2 separate regions of the Homo sapiens genome follow, and region 2 is linked to region 1. The links are contacts of gene promoters, found by promoter capture Hi-C in human tissues and cell types (Jung and others, 2019). All regions are on one chromosome and are shown on one strand. The core of a region is centred on a gene start or on the middle of the fragment in contact, and the rest is flanking DNA. Distances in the headings are between cores, read along the strand shown.

Evidence for each region. The method cuts DNA at HindIII sites, captures the fragments that hold promoters and counts their contacts. A contact is called where the count stands out against the background at its distance.
Region 2: a fragment that was not itself captured here is called in contact with the fragment with the promoter of TIMP4 in region 1 in 6 of the 25 tissues and cell types used here (IMR-90 fibroblasts, adrenal gland, aorta and 3 more).

What each region holds. Positions count from the first base shown.
Region 1 is chr3:12,155,071-12,162,302 of GRCh38, reverse strand. TIMP4 (TIMP metallopeptidase inhibitor 4) reads left to right here and starts at 3,391. Exons shown (of 5, transcript NM_003256.4): 1 at 3,391-3,601; 2 at 4,821-4,918; 3 at 5,369-5,483. The coding sequence starts at 3,463. It overlaps SYN2 (synapsin II), which reads right to left. Exons shown (of 13, transcript NM_133625.6): 6 at 695-757; 7 at 149-291. The HindIII fragment of the contact is 15,405 bases long and covers 1-7,232 here.
Region 2 is chr3:12,235,265-12,242,496 of GRCh38, reverse strand. No RefSeq gene overlaps it. Among named protein-coding and RNA genes, the nearest start is that of PPARG, 50 kb to the left of the region's middle. The HindIII fragment of the contact is 6,139 bases long and covers 1-5,719 here.

The sequences.
Region 1 (7,232 bases), core at 2,142-4,641:
CAGACCCCTCCTCTGACTTAAAAGGAACCCAGGTAAAAAAATCTCTGACTTAAGTGGCACCCTCTCTGTTATCTGAGAGTTGGCTGCAATGTGGAGGCTCAGCTTTTCCATCATCACTGAGGAGAAAACATACCCCACTCTTACTCACATGTAAGCCTTGTAGTTGTTGCCAATCTTCTGGACCCGGATGTCATACTTGGAGTCAATGAAAGGCTCTGCAGTGGCATAGGTCTGGGTGAGAGCCACCACGCTGGCAATGTCCTGGAAGTCGTAGTGGTTTTCCACTTTGACCTAATGTTAGAGCAGGGCAGAAAGGGGGAAAGGGAGACACACACATACACACACTGAGAAGTCACAAGGGCCCTGAGCCTCCAAACCCACCAATATGTATCCGATCCAGACACTAATCTGGGTGCCACATCTCCCCAGGAGGCCCCTTCTCCCTAGCTTCCCTTCCCAGAACTCAAGGGCCACACTTGCTGCAAAGGACCCAGAGGACCAAGCAGGTGGCTTGCATTCTGCTTACTGAAAGAGGTCTGGTTGGGTGACACTCATGGCTTTAGAGGTGGCAAATCATCTTCTCTTTGGAAAGAATTCATCAGTGACAGAGGGAGAATAGCAGTTCACAAATGGGCGCTCTGAAAACTGCCCTTCTTGGTTCAACCCTGAAGCACAGCAGGCCTCTCTGCCTCACCTTGCCCATGCCTGAGTGAGCGTGGCCAATCTTCACCACCACAGGGAACGTGGGCAGTGTCAGCTGAAATCAGAAGAGAAATGAATAAACTGTCAGAGTGTGCCCATCTCTCCGTGGAATCCTACACATATTTTTCTTGGGAATACCCTTGGGAGGGTTCTTTAAAGAACTAGTCCAATCTACTTGCTTTACAGATTAAAAAACTGAGACCCATGGAATGACAGTGAGTTCCCAGGGTCACAGAGCATATTAGTGGCAGTGCTACAAGAACCCTGTACTCTTATTTGGTATACCCTACATCTTTAAAATGCACTGTCAATTTTCTCTGCATTAGACAAAACCTGGGCAGGACTGGCCCTCAGACAAAGAGAATTAAAAAAAGAAAGTATCTCTGAAAGAGTGAACTTTACTATATGTAGATGTACTTTAATAAACCTGTATTTTTATTTTAAAAACACATCTTTGGCATCTTGATGTCCCTGTCAGCATGTACCCTCTTGGTACCTACAACCTTCAAAGGCCCAGCTTTCCTGTAATGATCCTGGTTGTTTTCTCCCTCTTTCACACTCTTCACTGCTCACCAATACCCCAATCTCACCACCAAACAAGGCTTTGCATGTGAAGGCCCATTTCTTCCCAGCTTGGGGTTTGAAAGAGAGCCGGTAGAAGAATTCAGTATGTTTATAAATGCAGAGAGATCCTTAGGGGAGCGAACTCTACACTGAGGTAGCCATACTTTAACAGAGGAGCAACAAAACCTTAAAAGAAGGATTATCCTCTAAGGGCAAGATTTCAAGCTGCTACAAAATGGTGATGTAAGAAGTAATATTGTGGAGTGGAAGGAGCACTGGGCTAGATGTCAGGAGACGAGTACTCTAGTCCTCTTCTGCCACGGACTTTCTACAAGTCACTGTATCTCACTGGGCCTCAGCCTTCACATCTGTCCAATGAAGAGATCAGATGGGATGCTTTCTGAGCTCCCTTCAAATAGTACATCAGCCTCTATCTTGGTCTGAACATTGTATGAAGAACCAGCCTGGATGCTAACCCGGGCATTTCATCTTTCAGTCAGACTCAGCTCTCTTTCAATTCCCTTCTTTTCAAATATCACTAACACCATCAAAATGAAAAGGTATCCTTTGAAGGAAATAATGTTGACCCTGATGAAAAGTCAGACTCCTATGGGAACTAAGATTTGAACAGATACTGGGGGTATCTGGCCTGAGGATCTCAGCATTCCTGGTTGAGGCCAGCCAAGGATGGGAAGAAGAACTTCAAAGGGCTTTAGAAATCACGTAGTTCAACTCTACTTTATGAAGAAAAAACTGAGGCCCAGAGAGGCAAAAGTCACAAAGCTACAGTGACAGTCAGAATTGGAACCCAGCCTCCCACTATCCAGTCCAGCACCATGTGGAAACATCCCACAGCAATAATCCCATGGAGATTTGGGATTTGGAGGCTTGCAACACTGTGCCCAAACAGCAGACAAGGCTCTGGTCACAGTCACCCCCAAGTCCCCTGCTTCTTTGTTTTTTCTTTTACTTTTTTTTTTTTTTTTTTTTTTTTGAGACGGAGTCTCACTCTGTCGCCCAGACTGGAGTGCAGTGGCACAGTCTCAGCTCACTTCAACCTCCGCCTCCTGGGTTCAAGCCATTCTCTTGCCTCAGCCTCCTGAGTACCTGGGACTACAGGTGTAGGCCACCACGCCCGGCTAACTTTTGTATTTTTAGTAGGGACGGAGTTTCATCATGATGGCTAGGGTGATCTCGAACTCCTGACCTCAGGTGATCAACCCGCCTTGGCTTCCCAAAGTGCTGAGATTACAGGCGTGAGCCACCACGCCCAGCCTGCTTCTTTGTTTTCTAAGCTGTCCCACCTTCTAGAACATGACAGAGTCTCCAGTGAGAAGGGACATGCAATAAAAATCAATGTAGTCTAGGGCCTCGAGAGGGCTTTGAGGTCCAAGGTTTGCCCTAAGTGATGGGACACTTTGTGTTTTGTACACCAAGAGCGCTGTCTCCAGCTATCTGGAGAGTCTGAGGCTCTGGGAGTGAGAAAGGGTTTCTAAAGCACTGGCTGCTTCTTTGACATCTCTCCCCACCCCCCAGGCAACAGAGCCAAGACACACACACCCCAACTTTCTCTGTCCTGTTCTATTACTGTTTGCTGTTGCTTTGGAGCCTCATAAATAGGGCATTGAAAGCACTTCCTGCAGCTGAAAGAAGCCCTGAGTAGCTCGTCTCATTCCCAGCGTGCAGCTCAGCAAGGGGTCCGTCCTTCTCTGTCACTGTCTCTTTTGCCTGTTGTAATTCTGTCTGCCTCTCTGGGACTCTGCCTGTCTCACTCTTTCTGTCTGTGCCTCTCCTCACTCTTGTTCTTTCTGCCTGAATCACAGCCCTCAGTTTTTCTGTCCTCATGCATTTGTCTTTGTGGCTCTTTCCGTCTTTCTGCCCTTGACACCATCCCCTCTCCCAGTGCTTCCCCTCTGCTTCCAGATCGCTTCATGACTTAGGCAGGGAAACAGAGGTCAGGGCCTCCTTCCAGGCTTCCCTCTGCATCTTACTGAGTATGCAGGTCGGAAGAGCCTCGGGTCCTGCCTCCGCGGGTGGCCTAGAGCCAAAGGAAGGCGGAGCCCGTCGGGGCGGGATTGGCCCTTAGGGCCACCTCATAAAGCCTGGGGCGAGGGGCACAACGGCCTTGGGAAGGAGCCCTGCTGGGGCCGTCCAGTCCCCCAGACCTCACAGGCTCAGTCGCGGATCTGCAGTGTCATGCCTGGGAGCCCTCGGCCCGCGCCAAGCTGGGTGCTGTTGCTGCGGCTGCTGGCGTTGCTGCGGCCCCCGGGGCTGGGTGAGGCATGCAGCTGCGCCCCGGCGCACCCTCAGCAGCACATCTGCCACTCGGCACTTGGTGAGTCCGAGGTCCGCGAGGTCCACAGCAGGGGGTGGTTGTGGGGGATTAGTATCTGGCCAGCAGTACACCAGGAGTCCAGAGGAAAAGGGAGGAGCTCAAATTCTTACCGGTTGTCTCTTGCTGAGGCTGATGGGTGGAGAAGGACCAGGCGCCATAGCAACCTTGCAAGCCCAGAACCTGACTGATTCATAAGGAAATGAAGATTTCATCAGGGACTTCCATAGCGACCTCCCTCACTCCGGCCATACTGCAATTATGGAGTGTCATTACACAAGGTGTCACCGGAGCTATCTGATGATTATTCTGAACTACTAGACTGGGGACAGAAAGGGGAGGGGAGAGGGCTTGCATTGTAACTACCCGTGTCTGTCCAGGCCTATAACTGAGGTTGCCACCAAGCCCCTATGGCAACACACACGTTCTGTCCTTTCTCTTCCCTCTGCCTGGAATGCCCTCCCTCACACCCTTAAATTCCTGGCAGACTCCTACTCATCCTTCAAGGGCTAACTTAGGTCTCTCCCCTTCTCTGCAGGCTCCCGGGCTCCTTGGTGCCGCCTCAGCATCTCTAACCGTCTTAGCGCTCCTACTATGCTGTGCTGTTGTTCTTTACACGTGTGCACTCCACTAGATCAAGAGCTCGGCAGGATGGGGACCCTGTCTTAATCACATCTATGGGCCTAGTGCCTAGTGCAAGGCCAGGCACAGAGGAAGAACATCATCAACAGTTTTTGGTTATTAATGCTCAAATGGCAAGAGATGCAATACCTCAGTGCAGGGTCAGAACATTTATGAATTCAATAAACATTTACTAATATCAACTGTAGGCGGGATGAGAGGCCTTGACCACAGCAATAGATAAACTTCACACCGACTGCCCTGAAGGGGCTCCTCCTCCCTTCTCTACTCTGACTCCTACCCTGTGCCCCACTGCACAAACGGCTATGGAGAACTAGAGCTCTCCAGACTAACTGGTTCAAAAGGCAGAAACAGCTTAGCGGTTATAGGACCTAATAAGCCTGAGGGGTTTGGAACTTCCAGTGACTGCAGGGGAGGTGTTTCCAGGTCCCCCTTCTCACACATCACGTTGCTCACAACCCAGCCACACCAAAACCAAGAACTGCCCTATAGACTTCTTCATGGACCCTGGATCATCCAGACCTCAGGTGTATTGCCCCCACCAGCTGCTGAAGGTTCCCTCTTTTCTCTTCCTATGCAGTGATTCGGGCCAAAATCTCCAGTGAGAAGGTAGTTCCGGCCAGTGCAGACCCTGCTGACACTGAAAAAATGCTCCGGTATGAAATCAAACAGATAAAGGTACATGGGGGCAGGCTGGGATGTGTAGCCCCTAAGGCTGATGGAGAAAGTGGAGTCTGTGTTCTGGGAGGGCTGGTAGCTTTCAGGTGGCCTGGCTCAGTAATCCTTGGGTCTAGATACTGAAGTGGAACTGGATGAGATTTGGAGGCAGAGCCCATAGAATCCCAGGGATATTGCCAGGGAGGGCCTCAGCATCCATCTGGTCCCACAGCTGCTGGTGTATGGTGCCACTACAGGTACCTACTGGAATAAACCAAGGTTTAGGTGTTTTTTGTTGTTGTTGTTTTGTTTTAAGAGAGAAAATAACCCAGTAGGGACATCTGAGGACACAAAATCCTCAACTAGACTTTTGCTTACATTTTTAGGCTGAGAAGTGAGAGGTTTTTGTCTGTTAATATATACAGTACACTCACTGACCCAATATTGCCTTTTTTTGTAATTGCCTGTCAGATGTTCAAAGGGTTTGAGAAAGTCAAGGATGTTCAGTATATCTATACGCCTTTTGACTCTTCCCTCTGTGGTGTGAAACTAGAAGCCAACAGCCAGAAGCAGTATCTCTTGACTGGTAAGTTAAAAGACCAACAACTGGCCTTAATATAATAGATTCTGCCCTAGGGGAGGTAGTGAGAAAGGAGCCAGGGTCTTCCTTGGGCAGTAGGCTGAGCCAGGTGGCATTTTCTTGGGCATAAAACAGAGCTGTGTTAGTGACAGACAACCTCTGGGTTAGGAGGAGCCTTGTAACCTCCCTTTAAATGTAAGAGTTCTTAGTACAGTGACCCTGGCCACCGTTTCACTATTTTAAGGACAGGCTGCTCACCCAGTGTAGGGCAGCTGCTTCCGTTTTTCAAATAGTTTAAATTAGTATAAGATTTTTGGCAACTTGAGTCGAAGTCTCCTCTCTAAAACTGCTCCTTGCAGGTCAACTCTGCCTTTTGCACAGGACTTAACAGGAGCTTGAGTCTAACATAGTTCTGTCTCTGTGAACTTGGGCCCAGGCAGGATTCCTCCATACTGAATTGGCTGGGATAGAACAGTTAAAGAATCACACAAAAATATGACTCCATAAATGAATGCAACATTAAATTATTTTGGAGTTCAGAGAACGGAACTATTTGGTAGTTGTGAACTATCAGGGAAGCTTCATTGTGTAGGTGGGATCTAAACTGGCCTGAAAACATAAAACAATATTTAGAAAGAAAGCAAGGGAAAGAAAAAGCACAGCAGTGGGGGAGGGAACAGGTGAAGGGATTCCACGATCTATCCACACATTCAGCAATGAATGACCACTTAGTCACTGCCATGCCTTGGCCAGGAGAGTGGAGATTCAGTAACAAGGCACAGTCCTTAAAAGAGTTCACTGTCCAGACATGGCTCTTGATGAGTCATAGGCACTGGAGGCTACAATGATAAGGGCTTCCTAGCTCTGAGGATGTGGAATTGTACAGAACTGAGGAGCTCCTGGATGGAAGAGGCAGAGGCAGGACACACCACTGAGCCCTGCAGTTCCCAGGTCTAGCAGACCAGGCCCTTTCAAACTCTATTATCGCACCTCCTTCCTAAGCACCTGCCCTCTGTGTGTCTAGCCCGCTGCTAGGCATGGAGGTACAGCAGGGGAAATGAGGAAACATGTTCCCTGCCTTCAGGGAGGTCAAGTCTAACTGAGGGTGGGGAGAAATGACAAAAAATAGTCTAAGAAAAGTTATCAATGGTGCCCAGGTCCTACAGGAGAAGGCACAAGCTCCTTTGCCTGGTGTTGAAAGCTCTTTGTGACCAGAACACTGCTGCCCTCTCTAGCTTTGTCAATATCAGTTCCCAGCCCCTCACTTTCCCAAGAACTGAACTCAGCTACCTGTGGTTGCAGAAGGTATGCTGCCAGGCTGTGTCTCCCTGCCTCTGCACAGGATAGTGGCAATGACAGGAAGCCCTTCCCCCAACCTGTTTGGTAGGCAGACTCCCACTCATCCCTTCAAGGCCCAATGCAAGCACAGTCTTCTCTGAGACACCTTCTTTGCCCCACACTCCTTCCATAGATGGAAATAATTGTATGTTCCTTTGTTCTTATACTGCACTTTGTATAGAACCACACAATAGTGTAATTTTTCCCTACTTATCCATCTACCCTACTCATTTCTAAGCTCCTTGGGAGCAGAGATCCTGTCATTTTTATATCTGTATTCCTGGTACTAGATCACAGCAGTCACTCAGTGAGTAAATGATTGAGCGACTGAGGTTCTAAAAGAGGCATGGGCTAGCTAGGTGGTCAGAGATGGCTTTGAGGTGGCACTGAAAGGGTCTTTGAAAGGTGAAAAGGAAT
Region 2 (7,232 bases), core at 1,401-3,900, 81 kb before region 1:
TACATGTGATGTCCTAAAAAATGACACATTGAGGTGGTATTCTGACTAGAAAAATGCATAACCCGAATCATCAGGAAATAAAAATGAAGAGCATTCTATTTAAAATAAAAGGGAGAGGACTTTATTCTTTTTAAAAAATGTGTAAAGAAGGAAAAAGACAGAAGTGGAAATTTCCAACTAAAGTAGGCTAAAGAGACATGACAACTAAAAGCAATTTCTGACACTAGACTGGATCCTGTTCTAGAGAGAAAGATATACCCAAAAACCATTTTTGGATCAGTTGACAAAATTGGAATATGGATGGTAGATTAGATAGAACACTTGGCCCAAAAAATATATACATAGACTCTCTCTCTTTCTGTCTCTGTCTCTCATGTGTGTGTGTGTGTGTGTGTGTGTGTGTATAAAGCAAACAGAATAGAAAAGAGAATCTGGGTGGAGATTGTATGAGTGTACCATGTGATATTCTTGCAGTTCTTCTGTAATTTTGACATTATTCACAAATAAAAAGGTTTTTTTAAAAATTGCCTCCCACTTACTTTTTCTTAGGAAGTTTAAAAAATTGCTTCCCACTTACTTTTTCTTAGGAGGTTACTACAGAATGTGCTCCAACAAAACGGCGGAGTAAACTAATTACGAAGAAGGCAAGAATCCAGGAACCAGGGGAACCAACACCAGAGAAAGGGAGGGCAATTCTCAGGATGACAGTAGAGGCAAGGTTGACACAGGGTAGGAGGCCAAAAAGGGCAACTAGTCCCACCTGGAGTGGAAGGATAGAAGGGTTCCCAGAGAGATGTCACCCCCGAAATTATATCTATAGGTTACCTATCCGATGTGTCTGTGTTGAACTGAGTTTTACAGTTCTTTAGAGAATTTGGGAAGAATTGGTGGTAGTAAAAACAAACAAATGAGCAAAAATGAGGCAATTAGTAACTCGAGAAAAATTAACTTGTACAAAAAAAGTAAGTGGGAGGCAATTATTAACTCGAGAAAAATTAACTTGTACAAAAAAAGGAATATACATATAATGTACTATGTGGCTTGCTCATGAACAATATTTACGTGGTAATAATAATGTAAAAATGGCTAGGCACAGTGACTCATGCCTGTAATCCGGGGGCTTTGGAAGGTTGAGGTGGGAGGATCATTTGAGCCCAGGAGGTCAAGGTTGCAGCAAGCCATGGTTATACCACTGTATTCCAGCCTGGCAACAGAGCAAGACCCTCCTCTAAAATAATAATAATAATGTAAACACAGAACATTCATTTTTCCAAAAATTATGATAAAACTATATTGGGAGGCCCAGCATAATGGCTTATAACCTGTAATCCCAGCACTTTGGGAGGCCAAGGCAGAAGGATTGCTTGAGTCCAGATATTCAAGAGCAGCCTAGGCAACATAGTGGGACCCCATCCCTACACCACACACACACACACACACACACACACACACACACACACACAAGCCAGGCATCATGGGGTGTACCTGTGGTCCCAGCTACTCAGGAGGCTGAGGTGGGAGGATCATCTGAAAATAGGGGTTTGCAGCTGCAGTGAGCCATAATCGTGCCACTGCACCCCAGCCTCAGTGACAGTGCAAGACCCTGTCTCAGACACACACACACACACACACACACACACGCACAAACTATATTGAAAGAAAGAGAAGAATAAAGGAAAGGAAAGAAGGTGGCGGGTGGAGAGTAAGCGTACTAAATTAACAGCTTCTGTAGCTTCAAGTTGGGAGATTCCTGAGGCTATTAAAAAGGCAACGTAGGCCAGGTGCGATGGCTCACGCCTATAATCCCAGCACTTTGGGAGGCCGAGGTAGGCGGATAACCTGAGGTGAGGAGTTTGAGACCAGCCTGGCCAACATGGCGAAACCCCATCTCTACTAAAAATAAACAAAATTAGCCAGACATGGTGGTGGGTGCCTGTAATCCCAGCTACTTGGGAGGCTGAGGCAGGAGAATCACTTGAACCCGGGAGGCGGAGGTTGCAGTGAGCAGAGACCATGCCACTGTACTACAGCCTGGGCAACAGTGTGACACTCCATCTCAAAAAAAAAAAAAAAAAAGGCAATATAAGCATAGCATTTAGAAGTATGGAAAGAAATATCAGAAGAAACAGAAGACACAGTAGAAGAAAGAGGTGAAAATCATTAAGATGTATCTGAGAAGCAGAATGCAGGGATGGTGGTTTGGGGGAATTTAGTTTCTTATGCCAGTTTTTAAAAACTGTGAGTGTGGTGTGTGGTGCGTGTGTGTGTGTGTGTGTGTGTGCTGGTTTTGAGAGGGAGAGGGAAAGGCAGGGATTGGGGCTTGAATAACAGGCATTTGCAGAACTAAAGGAGGCTGTACTCATTACATGTGTTGCAATGTGCTTCTGCTTAAGAATATTGTTGGCCAGGCACAGTGGCTCACGCCTGTAATCCCAGCACTTTGGGAGGCCGAGGCAGGCGGATCATGAGGTCAGGAGATCGAGACCATCCTGGCTAACACGGTGAAACCCCGTCTCTACTAAAAATACAAAAAAAAATGCCAGGTGTGGTGGTGGGCGCCTGTAGTCCCAGCTACTTGGGAGGCTGAGGCAGGAGAATGGCGTGAACCAGGAAGGCGGAGCTTGCTGTGAGCCGACCTCGCACCACTGCACTCCAGCCTGGGCGACAGAGTGAGACTCCGTCTCAAAAAAAAAAAAAAAAAAAAAAAAAAAAGAATATTGTTATGACCCCAGTGCAGTGTGATGTCTAAAACTAAGGAGGAGAAGCACACGGAAAAGTGTTCTCCCCAAGAGAGGTTGTTGCCTGTAGTTTTCAATACAGGACAGGATGGAAATGGGGGAAGCATAGGGAAGATGTTTGTTTGATTTGAACAAATGAAGTGCTCAACCTCCTCGTGGGTTCAGCAGGGGAATCGTTTCACCTGCAGGACAGCTGTAACACAGCAAGGCACAGAGGAGTGTGGACATGTCATTCGGGCTTCCAGCTGAGATTTCCCTGGGGACTTGGGAAAGCCAAGGAGAAGGGTGTGGGTGGTGCACAATCTCTCCGTCTGGTTGGTGGAAATTTCAAGGCTAAGCAGAAATATGCTGAATTTTCTTTGGCAATTAAAAAACGTGTAAGAATACCAGTGATTTCTTAATCCAGTTTTGCAAGTACAAACAATGGCTGTGTATTATAAAAAGGGCTATTCAGATTTAGATTTCTTCATAGTTCCAATAAGGCAAAGATCAAATTTTAATGTCAAAAAAAAAAAAAAAAAAAAAGACAAGCAGACAACGAGTGAGAATGTTCTAAATACTTTAGGGACGGTTTAATTGCTTTTTGGTTATGTTGTTTCAGACTGTAATTCTTGCAAATGTAAAGTCAATATGCAAAATTGAGTTAAAATATAATAGTTATAAACGTTTTTACTCTCTCATGTTAATCTAAAATAAAATAAAGCCTAAGCTTTTTTGAAAGCTGATGATGCCCATGTATTGATTGGAAATGCTTCTTGATTATAATGTTAAATATCCCATCAAAACAAAAATTTTAAAGTCTATCATCTGGATGTTTTCAAACATCTAGATACACAGTGCCATGCAGACAAAACATCCAAACGGCATAACCCAAAACACACCGACAGTTGGTAGAACCTGGCACGTTGGGGCCAAATATTTGGGATGGTATGGCTAGATGCACACTGCACTTATCTCAGGCCTCAGCAAATGGGCTTTGTTTAAATATGCCTTAAGCGGGCTTGCCTTTTGCTGAGATGGGTTATAATTCTGACTCTTTGCCTTCATAATTATATGCATAAGTTTGAAAGTTTTATTTAGCACATTATGGGAAAAAAAAAAGCTTTGTACCCTTAGGTTTCCAAACTGGGATCAGGAATTGTTAAATTTATTTTAATAGTCAGCTTTGTCTCTAGTAGATACCTGTTAGCTGCATTTTTAGCATAATAGAAAGCAGCCAACCAGTGTGATCTAGTTGTCATTTTTTTAAAAACTGAGGACAATGCAAGAATGAGTATCCAGTACAAGAATGCGTACACTTTATAACCACAGCATTCCCCTGGAGAGATCACAGAGTGAGCCGAAAAGCGCAGCTTCCTCACCCACTCCATACTAGAGGAACATTCCCCTAAACTCATCCATTACCCCCATTTAAAAAAAAAGTGTATAAATTTAAGGGGTACAAGTGCAGTTTTGTTACATGGATGTATCGCCTAGTGGTGAAGTGTAACCATCACCCTAATAGTGTACATTGTACCTTTTAGGTAATTTCTCATCCCTCACCCCAAACATGCAGTTTTGACTTTCTGTTTCTGAGTTGTTTCACTTAAGATAGTGGTCTCCGGTTCCATCCCTGTTGTTGCAAAAGACATGATTTCATTCTTTTTCATAGCTGAATAGTATTCCATTGTGTGTGTGTGTGTCTCACATTTTCTTTACACCACCCCAAATTTGGAACTTAGGCAAGGAGGAAGAATTTAACCAAACGAGTGAAAAAAAAGAAACACTCCTCTTATCAATAATGCCTAAAGTTATTAATATATATGTTTACATACATATTTATGGACCTAGAAACCAACAACAAAAAACCTGGCTCTCATAGTTCTAATACATAAGTGAATAAATACCAAACCCAAACCATCCTATATGGTAAAGAAGAAACTAAGACTGAAATAAACAGGAAAACTTCCGAATTTTTTGTGTTGCTATGATCTTTAGTGAAAGAGATAATTTCTCCTGGCGCACGGCTACTAACTGTATTTTCACACGTGGCCCTGGGGGAAGCTTACACGTTCTTCCGTAACAACACAGGATTCTCTTTCCAGCACTACCCAATGTTTTGGTGCCCATCAAATAACAGAATCATAACATGAGAAAGCAGGAAAAGACACCACAGAGTGAATTCAGTTCAACTCTGTATTTCATCCACTAAGGCATTAAGATACAGAGGTGTTAAGTAACTGATCCATTGTCCAGAGCCAATGAGAGGCGGAACCCAGGCATCCTGTTTCCCAGTGCGGTGTTCCCCGCTGCTGTCCAGACATCTCACTATTCCTCTTTGGTAAGAGGGACTAAGTGTCAACTTGCAGCTCCTTCCTCTTCTCCACTTGCCTCTTTACCGTGTCTTTCCTTCAGATGTGCTCTTCCCTTGCCTCTCATCTTTTCCTTTCCTCCTCTTAAATGAATCCTGCCATTTCTAACCTGAGAAAATTTGAATCTCTGCTGACACAGCATCTATACACAACTTACTGATGTGTTTTAGAAAACATGAAGGCAAAATCATGCAATGGAAATAATATTTAATTTGGATTTAGGAAACCTAGTTTGTAATCCTGTTTTTTTTTTTGTTTTTTTGTTTTTTTGTTTTTGACAGAGTCTTGCTCTGTCGCCAGGCTGGAGCGCAGTGGTGCGATCTCTGCTCACTGCAACTTCTGCCTCCCTGGTTCAAGCGATTCTCCTGCCTCAGCCTCCTGAGTAGCTGGGACTACAGGTGCCTGCCACCACGCCTGGCTAATTTTTTGTATTTTTAGTAGAGACAGGGTTTCACCATGTTAGCCAGGATGATCTCAATCTCCTGACCTCGTGATCCGCCTGCCTCGGCCTCCCAAAGTGCTGGGATTACAGGTGTGAGCCACTGCGCCGAGCCGAGTGTTTCTTTTAATTTTCTATAACTTTAGGCAACTCACTTTGCAGCTCTAGGATCAGTTTGCTAATCTATAAAATTAGAGGGTTGGACTGGGTGATCCTTAAAGCCCCTCTATTTCTATAGTTGTATGGTTATTCTGCTTTTTAACAAATTTAACTGTGAAAACAAACAAATCCCCCATATGTTTCTTAATCTTCATTATTCCTTACCCACTGGAACAAATCTATAATCTTCGTGGTGTGCCTGTCTTAGCTTCCCTTTTCTACCCATCAAAATGGGAATTATCTCTATGTAGTTCTCTTTATGCATTGCTTACCACAGCACCATGCAGACTTAATGGCTTAATAAGGACTTTTCAATCTGATGACAACAATTACAAAATATAGTGCAAACGTTGACATTCTAATGCCTGGCATTTAAAAATCTTTACAGAAACCTCTTTATTTCATTTATTTATTTTGGTTTTGTTTTACTCTGCTTTCAAATACCAACATTAAAGCATTGGTTCCGGCAGAAGAAAATTAATTAAGGCTCTTTAGGGTCAATTCCTAACCAAAGTGCTAGTTAATTAATTTTAAGGGAAACCCAAGGGAGGCATCTTTCTTTCCTGGCCCCTAATATCCAGGTTTAACCTAGTCCATTCAAAAAAATATTGAAATTCAAGTGGATAAAAGAAGAGTTGAGATAGAGGCTAAAAGTTTAGCCCTTGGGAAGACTGTAGTATTTCTTCCTTTTTAAAGTGTATTTAAAAGAAAAAAAATTAGGAGATAAAAGGAGATAACTTGTTTGTAAATAAGACTTACTTAGGTTTATGGTCTCTAGGATTTGCCATAACATGTTCAACTAGAAAAGGAATTCCATACGATTCAAAAGGGTGCAGCGTGCCTTATGTCTAAAATGAAAGTTGAGAGCCAAAGAGCTGCCCAATAGCCAATATGAGTCATCATTCCAAATGATAAACAAAGGACAAAAATAAAATGACTGAGAGGAGAGAAAAAGCAGAATTACTGGAAGCTTTACTGGATTACCTAGGAGCGTTAGCTTAACTCCTCTTCTTATAGAATTGTGGATTTGCCTTTTGAAGAAATCCCAGCTACAAATCACCCTAACAGCTACCCTGGCTAGGCAGCTGCATCGGTTTGTTGGTTTGATAGCAGTCTGTGCGAGAGAGCTGATTTATTTGTACCATTCTTCCTTGGAAAACAAATTCTCATTTTGAACTTTCTCCTTCTTCATACTGGTGCTACAAAAACTGGGGGTGGCTTTAAATATGCCACAAGAGATTCTTGCTTTATTTGGCATGCCACTTCAAGGAGGGAGCAATAAAAGACATGATGAGGGCTACAGAGATCCCTGATCAATTGCCAAGTGCAATTGAAAACAATTAACACTATGTGATCTTTCATTCTCACAATTCAAGGTGAGTGAGAACAGAAAGTCCATTCATTAGTACAGAGACTGACACTTAGATATTTGGGTGTCTTGCTTATGAACAACAGATGAGCTATCACTAAAAAGGCATACAGAGAGCTGCATATCTTTGTATCACTGCATTCAGAATGACTAACAAATCTCCTCATCAACCATAA